2 separate regions of the Homo sapiens genome follow, and region 2 is linked to region 1. The links are contacts of gene promoters, found by promoter capture Hi-C in human tissues and cell types (Jung and others, 2019). All regions are on one chromosome and are shown on one strand. Each heading gives the region's core, a stretch centred on a gene start or on the middle of the fragment in contact. The rest is flanking DNA. Distances are from core to core; before and after follow the strand shown.

The links. Contacts are between HindIII fragments. The study calls those that stand out against the background at their distance.
Region 2: a contact is called between a fragment that was not itself captured here and the fragment with the promoter of SERPINE1 in region 1, in 1 of the 25 tissues and cell types used here (mesenchymal stem cells).

What each region holds. Positions count from the first base shown.
Region 1 is chr7:101,125,324-101,129,151 of GRCh38, reverse strand. It overlaps SERPINE1 (serpin family E member 1), which reads right to left and starts at 2,048. Exons shown (of 9, transcript NM_000602.5): 1 at 1,908-2,048; 2 at 488-759. The coding sequence starts at 758. RefSeq lists enhancers at 53-832, 833-1,612, 2,393-3,172. The HindIII fragment of the contact is 16,005 bases long and covers 1-3,828 here.
Region 2 is chr7:102,128,360-102,132,187 of GRCh38, reverse strand. All of the region lies in intron 8 of CUX1 (cut like homeobox 1), which reads right to left. Among named protein-coding and RNA genes, the nearest start is that of SH2B2, 160 kb to the left of the region's middle. The HindIII fragment of the contact is 4,034 bases long and covers 1-3,828 here.

The sequences.
Region 1 (3,828 bases), core at 799-3,298:
GTTCATGCCATTCTCCTGCCTCAGCCTCCCGAGTAGCTGGGACTACAGGCGCCTGCCACCACGCCTGGCTAATTTTTTTTGTATTTTTAGTAGAGATGGAGTTTCACTGTGTTAGCCAGGATGGTCTTGATCTCCTGACCTCATGATCCGCCCGCCTTGGCCTCCCAAAGTGCTGGGATTACAGGCGTTTGAGCCACCGCGCCCGGCTCATGAATTCTTTAGGACAGCAAATAATCCTCATTTTGTAGATGGGCAAACTTAACGAGGTTAAGATCACACGGTGGTGAATAAGCGGTAAATCTACTGGTCAGACACCCTTGGAGATTCAAGGGTCCAGTGACTTGGAGTGTAGTGGGAAGAAGATGGGGTGGCCCCTGCAGCACAGCTGTATGGGGCTTGGCTCGGCTAAGCCAGAGCCAGCCTTTCCTTGGCTTCTGGTAGGTCTGTTCTGCATGCCACCCACCTCCCCTGGTGTCCCGTGGCTCACCATCAATCTTGAATCCCATAGCTGCTTGAATCTGCTGCTGGGTTTCTCCTCCTGTTGTCAGCTGGAGCATGGCCAACACCGAGGCCACCCCATAGGGTGAGAAAACCACGTTGCGGTCCTTGGAGGCCTGCGCCACCTGCTGAAACACCCTCACCCCGAAGTCTGAGGCCAGGTGGGCCACGTAGGATGGGGGATGGTGCACAGCAGACCCTTCACCAAAGACAAGGGCCAGGCCCAGGACTAGGCAGGTGAGGGCTGGAGACATCTGCATCCTAGAGCAATGGAAAGAGGGCTGGTGAAGGAATCGTTCTGGAAGACAGGCGGGAGGGGAGGGGAGCTGGCCAGCTGTGGGCCCTGCTCTTCTTGTTTCCTGCAAGCAGGTGGTAAGTGAACACTAGGGCAAGGTGCAGGAAGAGACCATGACATGTTCAGGTTCTAAGCCCATCCCACTCCGTCTCACTCAGACTGACTTATCCCCGGGCAGTGGCAGGGAGTCTTCGCCCATCTTGCCCTGTGGGAATCTTGGAATCCAGTCCATCTCCCTTCCCTCTGTGTCCCGTAAAAAAGCCTTAGAAGAAAAGCAGGTGAGAAGTCATTACCACTCTCTGCCTTTGCAGCCCAGGGGGAATTTAGCCCAGACTCAATTATCAATTATCACAACATCTTTGATTTGCATAAGCTTTAAATTTGCTTTCTTTTCTTTTCTTTCTTTTCTTTCTTTCTTCCTCTTTCCTCTTTCTTTCTTTCTTTCTTCTTTACTTCCTTCCTTCTTTCCTCTCTCTCTTTCTCTCTCTTTCTTCCTTCCTTTCATTCATTTTTAGAGACAGGGTCTTGCTCTGTCACCCAGGCTGGGTGCAATGGCTCAGTCTTGGCTCCCTGCAGCCTCCGCCTCCCCAGCTGAAGCAATCCTCCCACCTCAGCCTCCCAAGTAGCTGGGAATACAGGCACACCAGCACGCCCAGCTAATTTTTGTATTTTTTTGGGAGAGCAGGGTTTTGCCATGTTGCCCAGGCTGGTCTCAAACTCCTGGGCTCAAGTTATCTGCCTGCCTCAGCCTCACAAAGTGCTGGGATTACAGGCATGAGCCACAGTGCCCAGCCTTAATTCTCTTAATGCTTTCCCAGCGATTGTTTCATTCAAGTTAGCAGGCATGAGGTGGGAAATGGGTAAGTGTCTTGATGCAGAGGGACTGAGAGAGTCAAGGTTCTTGTTACTGGGTGATGGGGTTGTTGGTGACGCCTGACCATCCTCCCTGCTCTCCTGCAGTCACCCCTAGGGCAGGGTCGACCCAAGGCTGCAGGTCCGAGGAAAAGAAAATAGAGGAATAGCGGGGGATCATGGAGGGAGGAGATTCTGGGGAGGCGAGTTCTCTGCCTTAAGCCCGAAGTAAGAGGTTGGAGGGAGTTTGCTTTTCTCCTACCTGAAGTTCTCAGAGGTGCCTTGCGATTGGCGGTTCGTCCTGCTCTGGCGGCGGCTGCTGAGCTGCAGGAATTCAGCTGCTGGAGGGGGGCGTGTGGGTCTTCTTGACAGCGCTCTTGGCCCTGCAGCCAAACACAGCTGTGCTCCTCTGTGGGCCACTGCCTCCTTTTATACCAGATGTGGGCAGGAAATAGATGAACTCATGTTCCAGCCCCACCCACTCACTGGCTCTGGGAGTCCGTCTGAACAGCCAGCGGGTCCCCCTCGACACCTCCCTCTCTGGGACTTGCTGAGGCATGTGTGTGTGTGTGTGTGTGCTGCTCTGTGTGTGTACGTGTGTAAGAGCATTCAGGAACAATTGAGCAAACCCCAATAGCCTTGGCCTGAGAACCTCCCTTGACCTTTCTGCCCTCTGCCTGTGTCTGTCTCTCCCGGATGTCCTGCCAGGTTGACTGTCTGCCATGCCGGGTGACCCAAAAAGCCTAGGACCCCTAGTGTTCAGCTTGGAGAAAAAAAAAACAGCTCACGTTGCCTGCTTTTCCTTTGGCGAACCAGGTCACTGTGGAGTTATCAAAGATAACCTCCATCAAAACGTGGAAGTTTTCCCCCAGGGCTGTCCACCCGGTGCTCTGGACCACCTCCAGGAAAGAGCGCCCCTCCCTCCTCCTGGGCCCAGCCCAACAGCCACAGGGCATGCAGCCAGCCACGTGATTGTCTAGGTTTTGTCTGTCTAGGACTTGGGCCCAACAGAGGACTCTTGGTCTTTCCCTCATCCCTGCCATGTGCCCGGCCGCCTCCGATGATACACGGCTGACTCCCCACGTGTCCAGACTCTCTCTGTGCCCCTGAGGGCTCTCTTGTGTCAACAACCTTGTCTGGCTGAGGTTGGAGGTGTGCTGGGTGGGGTGGTGGTGGCTGAACGGGACCAGGGGTTACCATGGTAAAAGCTTGGTAAGGAAACAGGAGACCAACGTGTAAGTTTCACTTCTTCGAGCTGCCCGCTAGGACTTGGGGCAGCTTGTCCTTTATCCTCTTCCTCCAGACACAGACACAAGGGGAAAAGGGATAGAAACAGAGTGTCAATTCATGGCAGGTTTGCAGGGTGTGCTTTTAGGGCAAGGGGGTGAGGGGAGGAAGAGTGACCGATAGATTCTGTGGAGCAGTGGTCCTCAACGTTTTTGGCACCAGGGACTGGTTTCATGGAAGACAATTTTTTCACAGACCAGGGTGGGATGGTTTCGGGATGATTCAAGCACATTACATTTATTGTGTGCTTTATTTCTATTATTATTACATTGTAATATATATAATGAAATAATTCCACAATTCACCATCGTGTAGAATCAGTGGGAGCCCTGAGCTTGTTTTCCTGCAACTAGATGGTCCCATCTAGGGGTGATGGGAGACCGTGACAGATCATCAGGCATTAGATTCTCATAGGGAGCTTGCAACCTAGATCCCTCACATGAACAGTTTAGAATAGGGTTCGAGCTCCTATGAGAATCTAATGCCGCCGCTGATCTGACAGGGAGTGGAGCTCTGGTGGTAATGCGAGTGATGAGGAGTGGCTGTAACTACAGATGAAATTTCACTCACCTGCCACTCACCTCCTGTTATGCAGCCTGGTTCCTAACAGGCTATGGACCAGTACGGGCCCCTGGCCCAGAGGTTGGGTACCTCTGCTGTAGAGGGTGGAAACTGGCTAGCAGTGGGTGAGCATGTAGGGCTAGACTAGTGGATTTTGTTGTTGTTGTTGTTTTTTGTTTTTTTTGTTTTTCTGTTTTGAGACGGAGTCTTATTTTGTTGCCCAGGCTGAGTGCAGTAGCACTATCTTGGCTCACTGCAATCTCCGCCTCCCAGGTTCAAGTGGTTCTCCTGCCTCAGCCTCCCGAGTAGCTGGGATTACAGGTGTGCACCACCAC
Region 2 (3,828 bases), core at 749-3,248, 1.0 Mb before region 1:
ACCCGCCCATCCATCTATCCACCCGCCCATCCATCTATCCACCCGCCCATCCATCTCCACAAAGCTCTGAATTTCTTCCCTTTGTGATTTCTACTTTTGGCATCATGCTTAAAAAAAAGTTTTTCCACCCCCTTATTATATAAATATACACCTAAAATTGCTCCTAGTGTTTTTATGGATTTCTTTCTGGTCACATTTAAATGTTTTAAACATCTAAACTGAGCGTGGTGGCTCACGCCTGTAATCCCAGCACTTTGGCAGGCAGAGGTGGGTGGATCACTTGAGGTCAGGAGTTCAAGACCAGCCTAGCCAACATGGTGAAACCCCATCTTTACTAAAATACAAAAATTGGCTAGGCATGGTGGTGCGCGCCTGTAATCCCAGCTACTCAGGAGGCTGAGGCAGGAGAACTGCTTGAACCTGGGAGGCAGAGGTTGCAGTGAGCCAAGATCACGCCACTGCACTTCAGCCTGGGTGAGACAGCAAGACCCTGTCTCAAAAAAAAAAAATAAATAAATAAAATAAAAAATAAATAAAAATAACTAAATAGATTTTATTTTGCATGGGGCTCAGCTCTGATTCTACTGGCTTCTACATAGTTGGCTTGTTATTCTACCATTTACTAAAGACTCTGTCCTTCTTTAATGTACTTAAATTTGAGCAGTTTTTATGTTCAAACTTTTTTTTTTTTTTTTAAACAGAAATTATGTCTTGCTGTTTTGCCCAGGCTGGTCTTGAATTCCTGGCCTCAAACGACCCTCCTGCCTCGGCCTCCCAAAATGTTAGGATTAGAGGCGTGAGCCACTGCACCTGGCCAATTGAGCAATTTTTATATACAACTTTTTCTTAGTTTTGACGTCTGCAAAAATTCAGAAAGCTACTATAAGAAAATGACAATCAACCATCTGCATAAAAAAAGAATTAGCCACTTAACACAACTGGTCCTTTTTCCATTGGAAAAATCGATCGGAAATTGGATTTCTAATTACATTTGGGCTTTCCACGGAAACCGCAGAACAGCCGGTCATCTATATATTCATTAAATCCTACAAACTGGAGAGTTTTTTTTTTTTTTTTTTGAGATGGAGTCTCACTCTGTTGACCAGGCTGAAATGCAGTGGCATGATCTCGCTGACTCAGCTTTCTGAGTAGCTGGGACTACAGGCGTGTACCACCACGCCCGGCTAATTTTCGTATTTTCAGTAGAGACAGGGTTTCATCATGTTGGCCAGGCCGGTCTTGAACTCCTGACCTCAGGCAATCTGCCCACCACAGTCTCCCAAAGTGCTGGGATTACAGGCGTGAGCCACCACTCCCAGCCTGCAGAGATTTTTTTTTTAAGGGTGGGAAGATCACAGAAATGCTTCGAAGCACACATCGTCCAACTTAGAAGAAGCAAAAAGGTCAAAATATAGGCTATTCCATAAAATTTCAAGAATAAGCTGTGCTTTTGTGCTTCAGGCTATTTGGATAGCAAGGATTCTCAACACTACATAATTTTTTTTATAAGATGGAGTCTTGCTCTGTTGCCCAGGCTGGAGTGCAGTGGCGTGATTTCAGCTCACTGCAACCTCTGCCTCCTGGGTTCAAGCGATTCTCCTGCCTCAGCCTCCCAAGTAGCTGGGATTACAAGCTCCCGTCACCACGCCCAGCTAATTTTTGTGTTTTTAGTAGAGATGGGGTTTTGCTATGTTGGCCAGACTGGTCTCGAACTCCTGACCTCAGGTGATCCACCCATCTCAGCCTCCCAAAGTGATGGAGTTACAGGTGTGAGCCACCTTACCCGGCCAACACTACATAATTTTTATTTTTTCCCAACCCTCTTTAGGAAAATCAGAGGGCACTGCTGTGGTCATGTGGGGGTTAATTCTCACTGATGTTGAATGCCCCAGTCTTTGCTCTGTTCATTGGAGCATTAAATCTGAAGGCTCAGGAGAGTGATGCAGTCGGGCTGTGCGGGAGTGATGCCATAAAGCTCGGCATTAAAAATTCATATTGCAGGCTTGCCTTAGAACTCAGCACTGGCTGAAAGGAGAGGTGGCGAGGAAATATGAGACACCCCACTGTCTTTCTGGCAATTGGAGACATTCCTCAACAAATAGCACCTCGGGAAGAGAATGAAAGGGCAAACAAGCCGTGAAGGAAATCAATGAGTTCAATTATCTCGCTCGCTCCTGCCTTCCTATAGGAAACTTTTCATTCTTTGAGGTGGGTTCCAAAAAGTTTTTTAACGAAATCCCCGAACAAGAGCCCTGGGCATCCTTGCTGGGTGCCTGGCTGTTTGGCACCTCTTTTAATTTGTTTCACACCAGCCCACGGTGCCCCAAATTTTCCAAGTCAGATGGAACCAGATCTCCAATGCGGGCCGCCACCTTGGTGTCACAGTCAGCTGGGCGGGGACCGAACAACTTGTTCTCACTTTAAAACTTGGATCTTGCAAAAATGTGGCACATAGAAGACAGTTAGTTACTAGATTATTAACCTCTGGTGTTGATTTTTTCTTTGAGATGGAGCCTCACTCTGTTTCCCAGGCTGGAGTGCAATGGCACAATCTCGGCTCACTGCAGCCTCTGCCTCCCAGGTTCAAGCCATTCTCCTGCTTCAGCCTCCCGAGTAGCTGGGATTACAGGCACCCACTACCACGCCCAGCTAATTTTTGTATTTTTAGTAGAGACAGGGTTTTACCATGTTGGCCAGGCTGGTCTCGAACTCCTGACCTCAAGTGATCTGCCCATCTTGGCCTCCCAAAGTGCTGGGATTACAGAGGTGAGCCACTGTGCCCAGCCCTGGTGTTTGATTTTTTAGAGACCCATCTATGAAGGCATTTGCAGCTGTGCAATGGTTTGAACTTGGAACTTTTGGCCACCACATTTAGTGGCACCTCAATGGTGACTGATGCAGATTTTAAAATTTAGGGTCCCTGAGGAAGATGATGGGAAACAAAGCTTTACACCTGGGTGCCCCAGCTGTGGCACGCTAATATGGATGAGTAGGTCTTGCAGTGCGGATAATGATTTTTACAAACTCATCATGGAAAGCGACATAATTCTTAAGAGTGGGAAGAGACCTTGAGCAGGGGGAGGTAAGCAGACCTTTTTAAAATGTGCCAGGTGATGCCAGGTGCCTTGCAGGCAGCAGGAGCAGCAATGTCAGCCACCCTTTATAGAGGTCCTGTACCAGGCACTAATGTGGCATTCTTTTCTCTTTTTTTTTTGAAACAGAGTCTCTGTTGCCCAGGCTGGAGTGCAGTGGCGGGATCTCAGCTCACTGCAACCTCCACCTCCCCAGTTCAAGTGATTCTTCTACTTCAGCCTCCCGAGTAGCTAGAATTACAGACACATGCCACCACGCCCAGCAAATTTTTGTATTTTTAATAGAGACAGGGTTTCCTCATGTTGGCCAGTCTGGTCTCAAACTCTTGGCCTCAAGTGATCCACCTGCCTTGATCTCCCAAAGTGCTGGGATTACAGGTGAGGCGTGGCATTCTTTTATTTCACTTATGAAAATACTAAGGTCTGAGTAAGGAAACCTCCTGCCCTGCTTGAGGTTACATAATTCATGGAGTTGGGAATTAAACCCAGGTCTTTACGATGTTGCGACCCAGGTTCTTCCCACCGTGACTCATGCTGTGCCCGGTGCCCTGGATGCAGCCCTGCCTGAAGGCCACTCCACAAACAGGCCCTGCTGGGGGACAGCATCCGAGATCCAGGTCTCTGGGAAGTAGAACTGGGCAAGAAAGTGCAAGAGGCTGACAAAAGGGCCAGCTCCTCCGTCCTGCCTGGCACCCGGCCCAATCCGGTGCTGCGGCCGAGGGAGGGGCTTTGTGGG